2 separate regions of the Homo sapiens genome follow, and region 1 is linked to region 2. The links are contacts of gene promoters, found by promoter capture Hi-C in human tissues and cell types (Jung and others, 2019). All regions are on one chromosome and are shown on one strand. The core of a region is centred on a gene start or on the middle of the fragment in contact, and the rest is flanking DNA. Distances in the headings are between cores, read along the strand shown.

Region 1 (6,907 bases), core at 3,022-5,521, 540 kb before region 2:
CTGCAACCTGCACCCTCAGGAGTCTCAGGAAGGACTCCCTAGTCCCTGCAGGTTCAGGGGTGTCTGCTCCCACTGCCTGGCCTCTCTCAGAGTGGGGTTTGGGCCAAGTCCTAGGGCCGTGAATGGCAGCAGGAGGCAGATTAATTCCTGGGCAGAAGGGGGTGGGTCCCCAGTAAGGCCCCACCTTCAGGCCAGGGAGGGCCTGAAGACTGGGGGCCAGGCTGCCAGTCCTACAGACCAGAGTGGGGACTCATGGTGCCTCTTTCGACCCTCCCATGGCCGCCCATGAACCAGTCGGCACACACTTCCTCCCCTCTGAGGTCCGTAAAAGCCCTGGGCTCAGGCTTAGCAGGGCAGAGGACGGCCAGAGGACAAAGAAGGCAGACAGATGACAGGATGGGACCGGACGACCAGCTGCAGAGAGGAGTACCCTCTCCACTGAAGGCTGCAGAGATGATCTGCCGGCAGAGAAGAGCTACCATCCCTGCTGAGAGCTTCAGAGAGGAGCTACCGTCCCTGCTGAGAGCTTCAGAGACCTGCAGAGACGTCCGAATGACTTGCCTGTGGAGAGGAGCCACCCTCTCCTAGGCCTCCTCTCTGCTGAGAGCTGAACACTCGACCAGACAACCTGCCAACAGGGAGGAGCTGCTCAATCCTCTGAGCTGCTCTAACAGTAAATACAACTCTTCTTCACCCTTCACTTGTCTGTATACCTCATTCTTCTTGGATGCAGGACAAGAACTTGGGCAAAGGTACCACAGCCACAGAGGTTTCCAGCCAGAAAAACTGACACCCCAGGGATCCCGTAATACTGTCTCCTAGGGAGAGGCTGTGCTCAGTCCCAATACTGAGGGTCACTCTTTACACCTGGGAGCAGCAGGAGTACCTCATCCCACACACCACTCCTGGGGAATTCTCCTGAACTTTCACATAGCAAGGGGTCTCCTCTATCGAGGACTGAGTTTCTGGTGGGATTGTTCCCTCTGGATATACTGGGTGCCCTTTGGGAGAATGAGGACATCTCACCTGGGACCAGCGGGGCAGGTACCCAGCAGCCATTCTCTCCTCTTGGGAAAAGCAGGTTCCTGGGCAGGCAGAGCTGTGGGGAGGAAAAAGGCGCTGCGAATACCAGATCCAGGCCAGTCCCCAGATCCCAGAGCCCTTGGCCTGGAGAACCTCCATTTGCTTGAAGGGGCCCCCCATACACAGAGGGAGGTAAACTGAAGCCAGAACCCAGGACTGAAGCCAGGGTTTGTGTTTTTTAAGAGATAGGGTCTCCCTCCGTTGCCCAGGCTGCAGTGCAGTGGTGCAATCATAGCTCATCTCATGGCAGCTTCAACCTCCTGGGCTCAAGCTATCCTCCTACCTCAGCCTGTGGCTGGAACTACAGGCACCACCATGTCCGGCTAATTTTTTGTATTTTCTGTAGAGACGGGGCCTTGCTATGTTGTCCCAGGTCTATAGCTCCTGGGCTCAAGGGATCCACCTTCCTCAGCCTCCCTAAATTCTGGGATTAAAGGTGTGAGACGCCACACACATCCATGGCCAGGGGTCTTAAAGGCCCCATTTTATGGATGAAGGTCCTGAGGCCCTTGGAAGCAAACAAGTTTACAAAACACCCAGGCTCCATTAGGAAGTGAAGCGCTCCATGCATTTCCTGAGGCTGTTTTCACAAGGTGCCAGTAACCCGGGGGCTTAAAATAACAGGAATATATCCTTTCCCAGTTCTGGAAGTCTGAGATCAAGGTGTGGGCAGGGCTGTACTCCCTCTGAAGGCTCTAGGGAAAAGCTCGGGTATGGTGGCTCATACTTGTAATCCCAGCACTTTGGGAGGCTGAGGCGCGAGGATCACTTGAGCCCAGGGGTTCAAGACCAGCCTGGCCAACATGGTGAAACCTCGTCTACTAAAAATACAAAAAAAATAGCCAGGTGTGGTGGCACATCCCTGTAAACCCAGCTACTCAGGAGGCTGAGGCACGATAATTATTTGAACCTGGGAGACAGGGGTTACAGTGAGCCAAGACTGTGCCACTGCACTCCAGCCTGGGCAATGGAGCAAGACTCTATCTCAAAAAGAAAAGATAAGGAAAAGAAGAAACAAAAGCTCTCAGGAAAAATCCTTCCGCCTCTTCCAGCTACTGGGGTCATGAGTATTGTCCTTATAAGAGAAAGAGACAGCTGGACTAGGTGACTCACGTCTGTAATCCCAGCATTTTGAAAGGCCAAGGCGGGCAGACCACGAGGTCAGGAGTTCGAGACCAGCCTGGCCAACATGGCAAAACCCCCGTCTCTACTAAAAATACAAAAATTAGCTGGGTGTGGTGGCGTGCACCTGTAATCCCAGCTACTCGAGAGGCTGAGGCAGAATTGCTTGATCCTGTGGGGTAGAGATTGCAGTGAGCCGAGATCGTGCCACTGCACTCCAGCCAGGTGACAGACCGAGACCCCATCTCAAAAAATAAAAATAAAAACAAAAAAGGAGAAAGAGACACAGGGAAGAAGGCCACATGATGATGCAGGCAGAGCTTGGAGTGATGTGGCCCCAAGCCAAGGGACACCAACTATGGCAGGCCACCCCCAGAAGCTGGAAGAGACAGAGAAGATCCTCCCGCCAGAGCCTTCAGAAGCACCACGGCCCCACCACATCTTCATGTTGGGCTTCTGGCCTCCAGACTTGTGAGAGAATAAATTTCAAGCCTCCCCCTGCCCCCTGGTTTGTGGTGCATTGTCACAGCAGCTCCAGGAGGCTCATGTAAGAACCAAAGGCGCCGGGCGCAGTGGTCACTTTGGGAGGCCGAGGTAGGTGGATCACCTGAGGTCAGGAGTTCGATACCAGCCTGGCTGGCCAACATGGAGAAACTCTGTATCTACTAAAAATATAAAAATTAGCCAGGCGGGGTGGCGTGCACCTGTAATCCCAGCTACTTGGGAGGCTGAGGCAGGAGAATCACTTGAACCCACGAGGTGGATGCAGTGAGCCGAGATCGTGCAACTGCACTCCAGCCTGGGCAATAGGGCGAGACTGTCTCAAGAAAAAAAAAAGAAGAAGAAAAAGAAACCAACCTGTTTGGGTAGGGGAGAGTTCAGGGAGGTTGGGGTTGCTAGAGCAGCAGAAAGGTCAGCTGCCTCCCTCATTCCTCAACATGGGTGGTGGGTATAAACAGAATAGACCCTTGCAGCTGCGCGGTGGCTCACGCCTGTAATCCCAGCACTTTGGGAGGCTGAGGCGGGTGGATCACCTGAGGTGGGAGTTCGAGACCAGCCTGGCCAACATGGTGAAACCCCGTCTCTACTAAAAATGCAAAAATTAGCCGGGCGTGGTGGCATACGCCTGTAATCCCAGCTACTTGGGAGGCTGAGGCAGGACAATGGCTTGAACCCGGGAGGCGGAGGTTGCAGTGAGCCGAGATCATGCCATTGCACTCCAGACTCCGTCTCAAAAAAAAAAAAAAAAGGACCCTTGCTGTCTTATCACCAGGACAGCGGTGCTAACGTATAAGTGAGGTCTCTCCCTCAGGGCGCTGTGGACACTGGAGCCTGGGTCATTCTCTGGGCTGGGCAGGGTGCTGAGTTGCATCCCTGGCCTCCACCTACTCCATGCCAGGAACTGCCCCCAGTTATGACAACCACAGACGTCCCCAGACATCGCCCGGTGTCCCCTGGAGGGCAGGACCGCCCCTCGCTCAGACCCTCTGATGTGGCCTCACTGCAGTGCGAGCGTGGCAGCCCCTCTCTGCCTTTAGGGTAGAGTCAATGCGTCTTCTCCCTCTCCTTGCAGGCTGGGCCTCGGAAAGCTTATGCGTCTCTCACCCAGGGGCGTTTTCACAGGGCAAGGGCAGACCGTGCCATCCTGGGCGTTGGGGCCCTGGGCGAGCTGCCGGCTCCCGACCCTCCCGTGGGGACCCTATCGCGACAGGGTCATGCCCCGGCCACCCGGCCCCGCCAGACCCAGCCCCACCAGAGCCCCGGCAGGCCCGGCACGGAGGTCGCGGCGCGGGAGGCGGCGGCACTTACGGCTGAGCTGCCGGGAGCCGCGCGCGCCGGCCCAGGTGGGCGCAGGTGACCATCGGGGCGCGCGCTGAGGCGCCAGACAGGGCCCCCGAGGCGGGAGCGCCCCGTGCAGGCCGGCCGGCCTCCCCTGCGTGTCCCTGGGACGCCTCCTCCGCTCGGCTCCTCGGCGCTCGGAGCGGACGCCCCCCGCAGGCGCCCCTCAGGAACTCGCCGCAGCCGCCGCCACCAACCCCGACGCGCGCAGAGGTAAACTCGGCACTGCGCCTGCGCACCCCGAACCTGCGAACTACAAGTCCCAGCAGGCCCCGCAGCGCGGCGCTGGGCTCCTGACTCTCCAACCTGGGTCACAGCGCCGCCTCCGGGCGGGCGGCGTCTCCGCAGGACCACGATGCCCCTGCGGCTGTTGGATCCACCCCGTGTGGTTCGCTGGAGTCCCCGGGTGTTGTGGGGTTCGCGGAGCCAATCCTCAAATCCCAGCTCCGTCGTTTCCCGGCGGCTTGCCATTGGATATTAATAACTACTATTATTTATTAAGCAAGTTATATAAACGTATAATGTATTACATACTTATTAAAATGATTGCTTAAGTAATTGTTGTTTGTTTTTGAGACTGAGTTTCGCTCTTGTCGCCCAGGCTGGAGTGCAATGGCATGATCTCAGGTCACTGAAACCTCCGCCCCCTCGGGTTCAAGCGATTATCCTGCCTCAGTCTCCCAAGTAGCTGGGATTACGGGCGTGCACAACCACACTCGGCTAATTTTTTATATTTTTGGTAGCGACGCGGTTTCACCATGTTGGCCAGGCTGGTCTCGAACTCCTGACTTCCAGTGATCTGCCCGCCTTGGCCTCCCAAAGTGCTGGGATTACAGGCGTGAGCCACCACGCCCAGCCAAATTAAATTATTGTTTAAATATTTATTTAATATTCTACTGATTGTTATTTATGAGAAATTAAAATAGTAAAACTACTATAATTAATATACTGTTGTAGGATACAACAAATTCCTCTTCAAAGGTTTTAGCCTGTAAATTGTTAAGTACAATCAGTTATGAGCTCCTCTCCAAAGAACCAATGTTTCCGTATATTCAGCTCCCCTGTTCTTTTTTTTTTTTTTTTTGAGATGGAGTCTCGCTCTGTCGCCCAGGCTGGAGTGCAGCGGCGCGATCTCGGCTCACTGCAAGCTCCGCCTCCCAGGTTCACGCCATTCTCCTGCCTCAGCCTCCCAAGCAGCTGGGACCACAGGCGCCCGCCACCACGCCCGGCTAATTTTTTTGTATTTTTAGTAGAGACGGAGTTTCACCGTGTTAGCCAGGATGGTCTCGATCTCCTGACCTCGTGATCCGCCTGCCTCAGCCTCCCAAAGTGCTGGGATTACAGGCGTGAGCCACCGCGCCCGGCCACCTATTCTTTGTTCTTCATTTTAAACTTTAACTTCCTCGTTCTTTTCGTTTCCTTGCCCCTAGTTTCAGTAAACAACCCCTCCTAGCCCCTATCACCTGCTCTGACCTTAGTCACCCTTGGTCACCTGCTCTGACCTTAGTCATCCTTGGTCACCTGCTCTGACCTTAGTCATCCTTGTCACCTGCTCTGACCTTAGTCATCCTTGGTCACCTGCTCTGACCTTAGTCATCCTTGGTCACCTGCTCTGACCTTAGTCATCCTTGTCACCTGCTCTGACCTTAGTTATCCTTGGTCACCTGCTCTGTTCTTAGTCACCCTTGTCACCTGCTCTGACCTTAGTTATCCTTGGTCACCTGCTCTGTTCTTAGTCACCCTTGTCACCTGCTCTGACCTTAGTTATCCTTGGTCACCTGCTCTGACCTTAGTCATCCTTGGTCACCTGCTCTGTTCTTAGTCACCCTTGTCACCTGCTCTGACCTTAGTTATCCTTGGTCACCTGCTCTGTTCTTAGTCACCCTTGTCACCTGCTCTGACCTTAGTCATCCTTGGTCACCTGCTCTGACCTTAGTTATCCTTGGTCACCTGCTCTGACCTTAGTCACCCTTGTCACCTGCTCTGACCTTAGTTATCCTTGGTCACCTGCTCTGTTCTTAGTCACCCTTGTCACCTGCTCTGACCTTAGTCATCCTTGGTCACCTGCTCTGACCTTAGTCACCCTTGTCACCTGCTCTGACCTTAGTCATCCTTGGTCACCTGCTCTGACCTTAGTTATCCTTGGTCACCTGCTCTGACCTTAGTTATCCTTGGTCACCTGCTCTGTTCTTAGTCACCCTTGTCACCTGCTCTGACCTTAGTCATCCTTGGTCACCTGCTCTGACCTTAGTTATCCTTGGTCACCTGCTCTGACCTTAGTTATCCTTGGTCACCTGCTCTGTTCTTAGTCACCCTTGTCACCTGCTCTGACCTTAGTTATCCTTGGTCACCTGCTCTGTTCTTAGTCACCCTTGTCACCTGCTCTGACCTTAGTTATCCTTGGTCACCTGCTCTGTTCTTAGTCATTCTGAGTCACCTTTTCTGTAGCCGTCCTTCCTGCCAAACTACTCACCCCGCCACTCTGGCTCATACCCCTGCTCTTTAAAACAGCCAATCAGAATCAGCTTAGACTGTGCGGGCCAACCCTAGCCAATAGGGGAACAACACAGCAGTAGGGGTACCTGCGTCAGGGGTAAGAACCCCTTCTCCTCCCTCGTTCAGGTGTGCTCGTTCAGGCGCCGCCAACCCCGACTCGCGCAGAGGCAAACTCGGCATTGCGCCTGCGCACCCTGAGCCTGTGAACTACAAGTCCCAGCAGGCCCCGCAGCGCGGCGCTGGGCTCCACCTGCCAGACGCACCCTTCTATAGAAGTAAAATTGCCGTGCTGAGAAAATTAATGTTCGAGTGCTGTTTCTTTTGTGGCACCGAAAATTTATTTCTAACACTATAAAGGTTCATAATA
Region 2 (7,383 bases), core at 3,121-5,620:
CTGGGATGGGGCAGGGGGCCGCTGGGGGCTCCTCAGATGCTGCCGCAGGAGGGGAGGTGGTTCCCGGGGAAGTGAAACCCACAGACCCCACTTGCACCTTCTCCAGGGACAGCCGCCACCGTGTTCTGTGCGCTCCCCTACGGTGGGCCAGCTCTGCCCCTCTCTCCCCATCTCACAGGGCTCCCCACTGCCCCGCACCCCAGCCTGGCCTCTGAGGCTGTGGGGGGCCTTCCACTGCCCCCACCCGGCTGTCAGCCCTGGGGCTATTGACTTTCAGATCCCACCTCCTGGTCTCTGTCCAGGCTGTTCCCTCCCGGTTACATCCTGTCCTCTGCGGGCGGGCAGGGGAGGCGGCGGCCTCGGCTGCTGGGGAAGTGTTGCAGAAATGTCCCCTCCCCACCCCGGGCTGCGGTCTGACAGTGGGCCGGACGTTTTCCTGTCAGCTGCCGGCGCCAGGTCAGACCCCTCCTGCGAGGCCAGGGGCTGTGGCCATTGGGAGTTTGTCCCCACGGACCCCTCCTCCCCCAGAGGGCACGCCAGTCTTGAAGGTAGGGGGCTCCTGGAGCGGGGAGCTGGACAGAAGCGGCCACTTTTTGAGGTTGGGATCTGGGCGGGGGTGGGTCGAGGCCTGGCTGCCGGCAGCAACCGCACGGCTGAGCCCTCGGGGATGAGGCCTGAGTGTGGATCCCTGGGTCCCTGGACACTGTCTCCCCCGCAACTGACCCCCAAAGGCCTGTCCTCAGGCTGAACACTCTGTCCCCATCCCAAACGTGCAGAGGGGGGTCCTTCCCACTGCCTGGAAAATTGATGGGTGACAGACCTGCCTCATGATTGAGGAAGTGGGCCCAGAGAGGGCAGGAAACCCACTCGGGATCACACAGCAGGGCCCCAGAGAGGGCAGGAAACCCACTCAGAATCACACAGCAGGGGCCCAGAGAGAGTAGGAAACCCACTCGGGATCACACAGCAGGGCCCCAGAGAGGGCAGGAAACCCACTCGGGATCACACAGCAGGGCCCCAGAGAGGGCAGGAAACCCACTCGGGATCACACATCAGGGGCCCAGAGAGGGCAGCAAACCCACTCAGGATCACACAGCAGGGCCCCAGAGAGGGCAGCAAACCCACTCAGAATCACACAGCAGGGGCCCAGAGAGAGTAGGAAACCCACTCGGGATCACACAGCAGGGCCCCAGAGAGGGCAGGAAACCCACTCAGAATCACACAGCAGGGGCCCAGAGAGAGTAGGAAACCCACTCGGGATCACACAGCAGGGCCCCAGAGAGGGCAGGAAACCCACTCGGGATCACACATCAGGGGCCCAGAGAGGGCAGCAAACCCACTCAGGATCACACAGCAGGGCCCCAGAGAGGGCAGCAAACCCACTCAGAATCACACAGCAGGGGCCCAGAGAGAGTAGGAAACCCACTCGGGATCACACAGCAGGGGCCCAGAGAGGACAGGAAACCCACTCGGGATCACACAGCAGGGGCCCAGAGAGGACAGGAAACCCACTCGGGATCACACAGCAGGGTCAAAACTGGACAAGGGAGTGGAGTGTGGGTGCGCCTGTTCTCACCAAGGGCCCTGGAGCAGGAGGCCTCGACGGTCTCCCAGGCCCCAGCACTCACGGACCCCTCCCCATGTCGCCCTGTGCGTGCACACGGTCACCCCACACACGCCCCGTTTGACCTTTCCCCAGCAACATGAGCAGCCCGGAGCCCCCCACAGAGCCCCCCGAGCCCGACAACCCCACCTGGTCGACTCAGCCCACGTATAGCAACCTTGGTAAGCAGCTCCCCAGGGAGCCCTGGGCTGCGGGGGTGCAGGGAGCGGCAGGGGGGTGCAGGGAGCGGCAGGTGGGTGCAGGGAGCGGCAGGAGGTTGCCGGGCACCATGGCCTCTGGGAACAGCAGCAGCTGGTAAAATGAGTGACCTCCGGGAAGGCCCGGAGTAGGCCAGGGCTGAAAAATAACCTGTGGGTTGGTGGGCGGGGCGTGGTGGCTCACGCCTGTAATCCCAGCACCTTGGGAGGCTGAGGCAGGTGGATCCCTTGAGGCCAGGAGTTCAAGACCGGCCTGGGCAATATAATGAGACCCGCCCCCCATCTCTACAAAACAAAAAAAATGAGATGGACATGGTGTCAAGAGCCTGCAGTCCCAGCTGCTCGGGAAGCTGAGGTGGGAGGATCCCTTGAGCCCAGGAGGTCAAGGCTGCAGTGAGCCATGAAATAGAAAAAAATATATACCATTAAAAAGAGAGAGAGGCTGGGCACGGTAACTCATGCCTGTAATCCCACCCTTTAATCCCAGCACTTTGGGAGGCCAAGGAGGAGGATCACTTGAGGCCAGGAGTTCAAGACCAGCCTGGCCAACATGGCAAAACCTGTCTCTGCTAAAAATACAAAAATTAGCCAGACATGGTGGTGCATGCCTGTAATTCCAGCTACTCGGGAGGCTGAGGCAGGAGAATCGCTTGAACCTGTGAGGCAGAGGGTGCAGTGAGCCAAGACTGAGCCACCGCACTCCAGCCTGGGCGACAGAGGGAGACTCCATCTCAAAAAAAAAAAAAAAAAAAAAAAAAAAGGCCAGGTGCAATGGTTCAAGCCTGTAATCCCAGCACTTTGGGAGGCCGAGTCAGGCAGATCACCTGAGGTCAGGAGTTTGAAACCAGCCTGGCTAACATGGTGAAACCCCATCTCTACTAAAAATACAAAAATTAGCTGGGCATAGTGGCGGGCGGGCACCTGTAGTCCCAGCTACTTGGGAGGCTGAGGTAGGAGAATCGCTTGAACCTAGGAGGCGGAGGTTGCAGTGAGCCGAGATCGTGCCACTGCACTCCAGGCTGGGCGACAGAGCAAGACTTCAAAAAAGAAAAAAAGCAAGACAGACGCTTGTGCAAAGCCACGGAGGTAAGTGGGAGTCGCTGAGTGCTGGGTGGCATCACTCTCTGAAACTGATCCATCCTCCTATAAGCCTCAGTTTCCCCTTCTGTAAGCTCTGCCGCCCAGGCTGGAGTGCAGTGGCACAATCTCGGTTCACTGCAAGCTCCACTTCTCAAGTTCACACAATTTTCCTGCCTCAGCCTCCCGAGTAGCTGGGACCACAGGCGCCCACCACCAAGCCCGGCTAATTTTTTGTATTTTTAGTAAAGACGGGGTTTCACCGTGTTAGCCAGGATGGTCTCGATCTCCTGACCTCGTGATCCACCCATCTCGGCCTCCCAAAGTGCTGGAATTACAGGCATGAGCCATTGTGCATGGCCGCGTCCGGCAAATTTTTAAAAAATTTTTGCAGAGACAGGGTCTCACTATGTTGCCCAGGCTGGTCTCAAACCCTAGGTTCCAGTGATCCTCCTGCCTCGGCTTCCACCTTCCTAAGTGCTGGGATTACAAGCATGAGCCACCGGCGCCCAGCCTCATTACTTCCATGTTAGAGATGGGGAAACCGAGGCTGAGAGGTGGAGTCACGTGTCCCGTTCCCACTCCGCCTGTCCTCAACCCTCCCCCACTGTCTCTCCCTGCAGGTCAGATCCGTGCCCACCTGCTGCCCTCCAAGGCCTGCCGCCTCCGGACCCCTGGGTCCCTCTCCACCAACCCAGAGCCCCTGCCCCCACCCCTGCCCAAGAAGATCCTAACCCGGACCCAGTCACTGCCCACCCGCAGGACCCTCCATCCCAGCTCCATCCAAGTACAGCCGCCTCGGAGACCCTTTCTGGGGTCCCACAGTGTGGACAAGAGCCAGGCTGCAGTGGGACCAGCCTGTCTCCCTGCAGAGCTGACCTTTGGCCCGGCTGACGCCCCACTGGGCCTCTCCCTCCGCGATCTGCACAGCCCGGAGGCTGTGCACACTGCACTGGCTGCGCGGCAGCTGCAGGGCCTCCGTACCATCTATGCCCGGCTCCGTGCCCGGCTCATGGGGGGCCACCCCGGGCCCTGCCACCCCGGCCACAGCTTCCGCCTCCTAGACAGCTCACCCTGCGCAGAGAGCGGGGACGCCCTGTATTACCGCGTGGTGCGCGCGCACGAGGACGCCTGGCACATCCTGGTCGCCAAGGTGAGCCCCACAGCCCCACCCTCTCTGAGGTGTCCCCAGTGCCCCATCTTAGACATAACCCAGGGCTTGTTTCATTTGGCCTTTCTGTGAGTCAGTTCTCACACTGCTGTAAAGAAATACTGGAGCCGGGCGCGGTGGCTCACGCCTGTCATCCCAGCACTTTGGGAGGCCAAGGCGGGCGGATCAGCTGAGGTCAGGAGTTCAAGACCAGCCTGGCCAACATGGTGAAACCCAGCCTCTACTAAAAATACAAAAATTAGGTGTGGTGGCGGGCGCCTGTAAACCCAGCTACTTGGGAGACTGAGGCAGGAGAATTGCTTGAACCCGGGAGGCAGAGGTTGCAGTAAGCCAAGATTGGGCCATTGCACTCCAGCCTGGGCAACAGAGTGAGACTCCGTCTCAAAAAAAAAAAAAAGAAAAAGGCCGGGCACAGTGGCTCACACCTGTAATCCCAGCACTTTGGGAGGCCGAGGCGGGCAGATCACGAGGTCAGGAGATACAGACCATCCTGGCTAACACGGTGAAACCCTGTTTCTACTAAAAAGACAAAAAATTAGCCGGGCGTGGTGGTGGGCACCTGTAGTCCCAGCTATTTGGGAGGCTGAAGCAGGAGAATGGCATGAACCCAGGGGGCAGAGCTTGCGGTGAGCCGAGAACGCACCACTGCGCTCCAGCCTGGGCGACAGAGCGAGACTCCGTCTAAAAAAAAAAAAAAAGGCTGGGCAGCACAGTGGCTGACGCCTGTAATCTCAGCACTTTGGAAGGCCAAGGCGGGCAGATCATGAGGTCAGGAGTTCGAGACCAGCCTGGCCAACATAGTGAAACCCCCATCTCTACTAAAAATACAAAAATTAGCCGGGCGCGGTGGTGCGCACCTGAAGTCCCAGCTACTTGGAGGCTAAGGCAGGAGAATCACTTGAACCTGGGAGGCGGAGGTTGCAGTGAGCTGAGATTCGAAAATTGGGCTATTGCACTCCAGCCTGGGCGACAGAGTGAGACTCTGTCTCAAAAAAGAAAAACAAAAGAGAAGAAAAAAGAAAAGAAAAGAAAAAGGAATACTGGAGACTGGGTAATTTATAGAGAAAAGGGCCTTAATTGGCTCATGGTTCTGGTGGCTTCTGCTTCTGGGGAGGCCTCAGGAAGCTTCCAATCATAGTGGAAGGCGAGGCGGGAGCAGGCATCTCACACGGTGGGAGCAGGAGGAAGGGAGGGAGGAGGTGCTACTCACCTTTACACAGCCAGATCTCACGAGAACTCACTCGTTATCCCAACGACAGTGCCAAGGGAGATGGTGCTGAGCCATTCATGATAAACCACCCCCAAGATCCAAGTCGCCTCCCACCAGACCCCACCTCCAACACTGGGGAATGAGATTTGGTGGGGACACAGATCCAGACCATATTAGACTTGTTTATTTTGCAACTAACACGTGAATCAACGCAGTTAACCCAGGAAACCATGTTTCTAAAGTATGGGGCCATGGGTATGGCCTTGGAGCTCTTGTCAAAACCCCTCCCACACCTCTCTGGCCGGGGATCTGCTTTTGTGTTTTTTGTTTTGTTTTTTGTTTTTGAGACAGAGTCTCACTCTGTTGCCCAGGCTGGAGTGCAGTGGCGCGTTCTCGGCTCACTGCAACCTCCACCTCCCGGGCTCAAGCGATTCTCTCACCTCAGCCTCCGAAGTAGCTGGGATGACAGGCGCGCCACCACGCCCAGCTAGTTTTGCATTTTTTAGTAGAGACGAGCGTTCCCTGCGTTGGCCAGGCTGGTCTCGAACTCCTGACCTCAGCGATCCCCCTGCCTCCCAAAGTGCTGGGAAGGCGTGAGCCACCGCGCCCGGCCCAGGAATCTGCTTTCGAACTCATTGCCCAGGAACATCTTCTTCCCTGGCTTAACTTTCCTGAAAGTCCTTACTGGTGACTAACTTCCAAATTAACACTGACCTCCTGCTGCTGGAGGGATGCAGGCAGCCCCTAGCCGTAGTGGGGGCAGTTTGGGGGTGTGCGTGGGAGGCTTCGGGGCAGGTAGCACTGGGGCAGGCGGTGCTTGTGGGGGGCCCAGTGATCCAGGCCCCGACACCCCCTCTGCCTTGCAGGTGCCCAAGCCCGGGGCGGACGTGCCCCACCCGTGGGGCCTGGAGCTGCAGGCCTCCCTGTCTCCACACTTCAATCTGCAGGGGCTGTGTGGCCTGGTGCCTGAAGGCACACTGCCCGGGGCGCCCTGGAGAGGCGCAGTGGCGCTGGCAGCCGAGGTTCCAGAGCGCACGGTGGCGCAGTGGCTGGCGGAGGCCTGCACGCAGCCGCCGGAGGAGTTCGTGTGGGCTGTGGCCCTGCTGCTGCTGCAGCTGAGCGCGGCCCTGAAGTTCCTGGAGGCGTGGGGCGCGGCCCTAGTCGAGTTGCGGCCGGAGAACTTGCTGCTGGTGGCACCTCGGGGCTGTGCGACGACGGGGCCCCCACGCCTGCTCCTCACTGACTTTGGCCGCGTCTGTCTGCAGCCCCCTGGACCCCCGGGATCCCCGGGCCCCCACGCGCCGCAGCTGGGCAGCCTCCTCCGAGCGCTGCTCAGCCTTGCTGCGCCCTCGACCACGCCTTTGGCCGCGGGCCTGGAGCTCCTGGCAGCACAGCTGACCCGCTTGCGGCCCTCGGCGTCCCGGACGCGGGGCGCGCTGCAGGCGCTGCTCTGGGGGCCCGGGCCTGAGCTGCGCGGCCGCGGAGCACCGCTTGGTCCCTGGCTCCGAGCGCTCGGGCCCTGGCTGCGGGTGCGCCGCGGGCTGCTGGTCCTGCGCCTAGCAGAGCGGGCCGCAGGTGGGGAAGCTCCCAGCCTCGAGGACTGGCTGTGTTGCGAATACCTGGCCGAGGCCACCGAGTCCTCGATGGGCCAGGCCCTGGCGCTGCTGTGGGACTGACCCCAACCCAGGGCGAACACACCTGGTCCAGGCCTGCCCAGGAGGCAGGGCTGGGGCTGAGGTCAGCGTCTCCATGATAGCCAAGACACCCTCTTCCTGCAGAGTCCAGGAGCGCAGCAGAGAGAGCAATGCCCCACTCCAGAGCCTCCCCTCCCGTGCTGGGGATGTGGGTCAAGGGCTTCCCAGGAATGCAGCTGCCCCTCCAGGGCTGGGGGCTGGCCAGCGCCTCCTGTGTTGGGCAGCAGCTCTCTGAAGCCAGGGCCCCCACGCCACTTCCAGGTGTGGACAACCCCGCTGATCAATGTCTCTCTGTGTTCTGCCTTCCCCAGCAGCCAGGGCGCTCTTCCGCGTGGGTTCTGTCATTGTCTCCATGAGAGGCCAATGCCGGGACCAGAGGCATTCCTGGCTCTGGAGCACCCCCTTGTGCT

What was found. Contacts are between HindIII fragments. The study calls those that stand out against the background at their distance.
Region 1: a contact is called between the fragment with the promoter of ZNF554 here and a fragment that was not itself captured in region 2, in 2 of the 25 tissues and cell types used here (aorta and dorsolateral prefrontal cortex).

The regions. Positions count from the first base shown.
Region 1 is chr19:2,817,232-2,824,138 of GRCh38, reverse strand. ZNF554 (zinc finger protein 554) reads right to left here and starts at 4,271. Exons shown (of 5, transcript NM_001102651.2): 1 at 4,015-4,271; 2 at 1,027-1,099. The coding sequence starts at 4,067. RefSeq lists an enhancer at 3,167-3,860 and a silencer at 3,793-4,232. The HindIII fragment of the contact is 22,652 bases long and covers 658-6,907 here.
Region 2 is chr19:2,275,252-2,282,634 of GRCh38, reverse strand. It overlaps PEAK3 (PEAK family member 3), which reads left to right and starts at 460. Exons shown (of 4, transcript NM_198532.3): 1 at 460-548; 2 at 1,700-1,785; 3 at 3,522-4,051; 4 at 6,146-7,383. The coding sequence starts at 1,704. The coding sequence ends at 6,955. RefSeq lists enhancers at 605-744, 6,650-7,383. The HindIII fragment of the contact is 7,382 bases long and covers 680-7,383 here.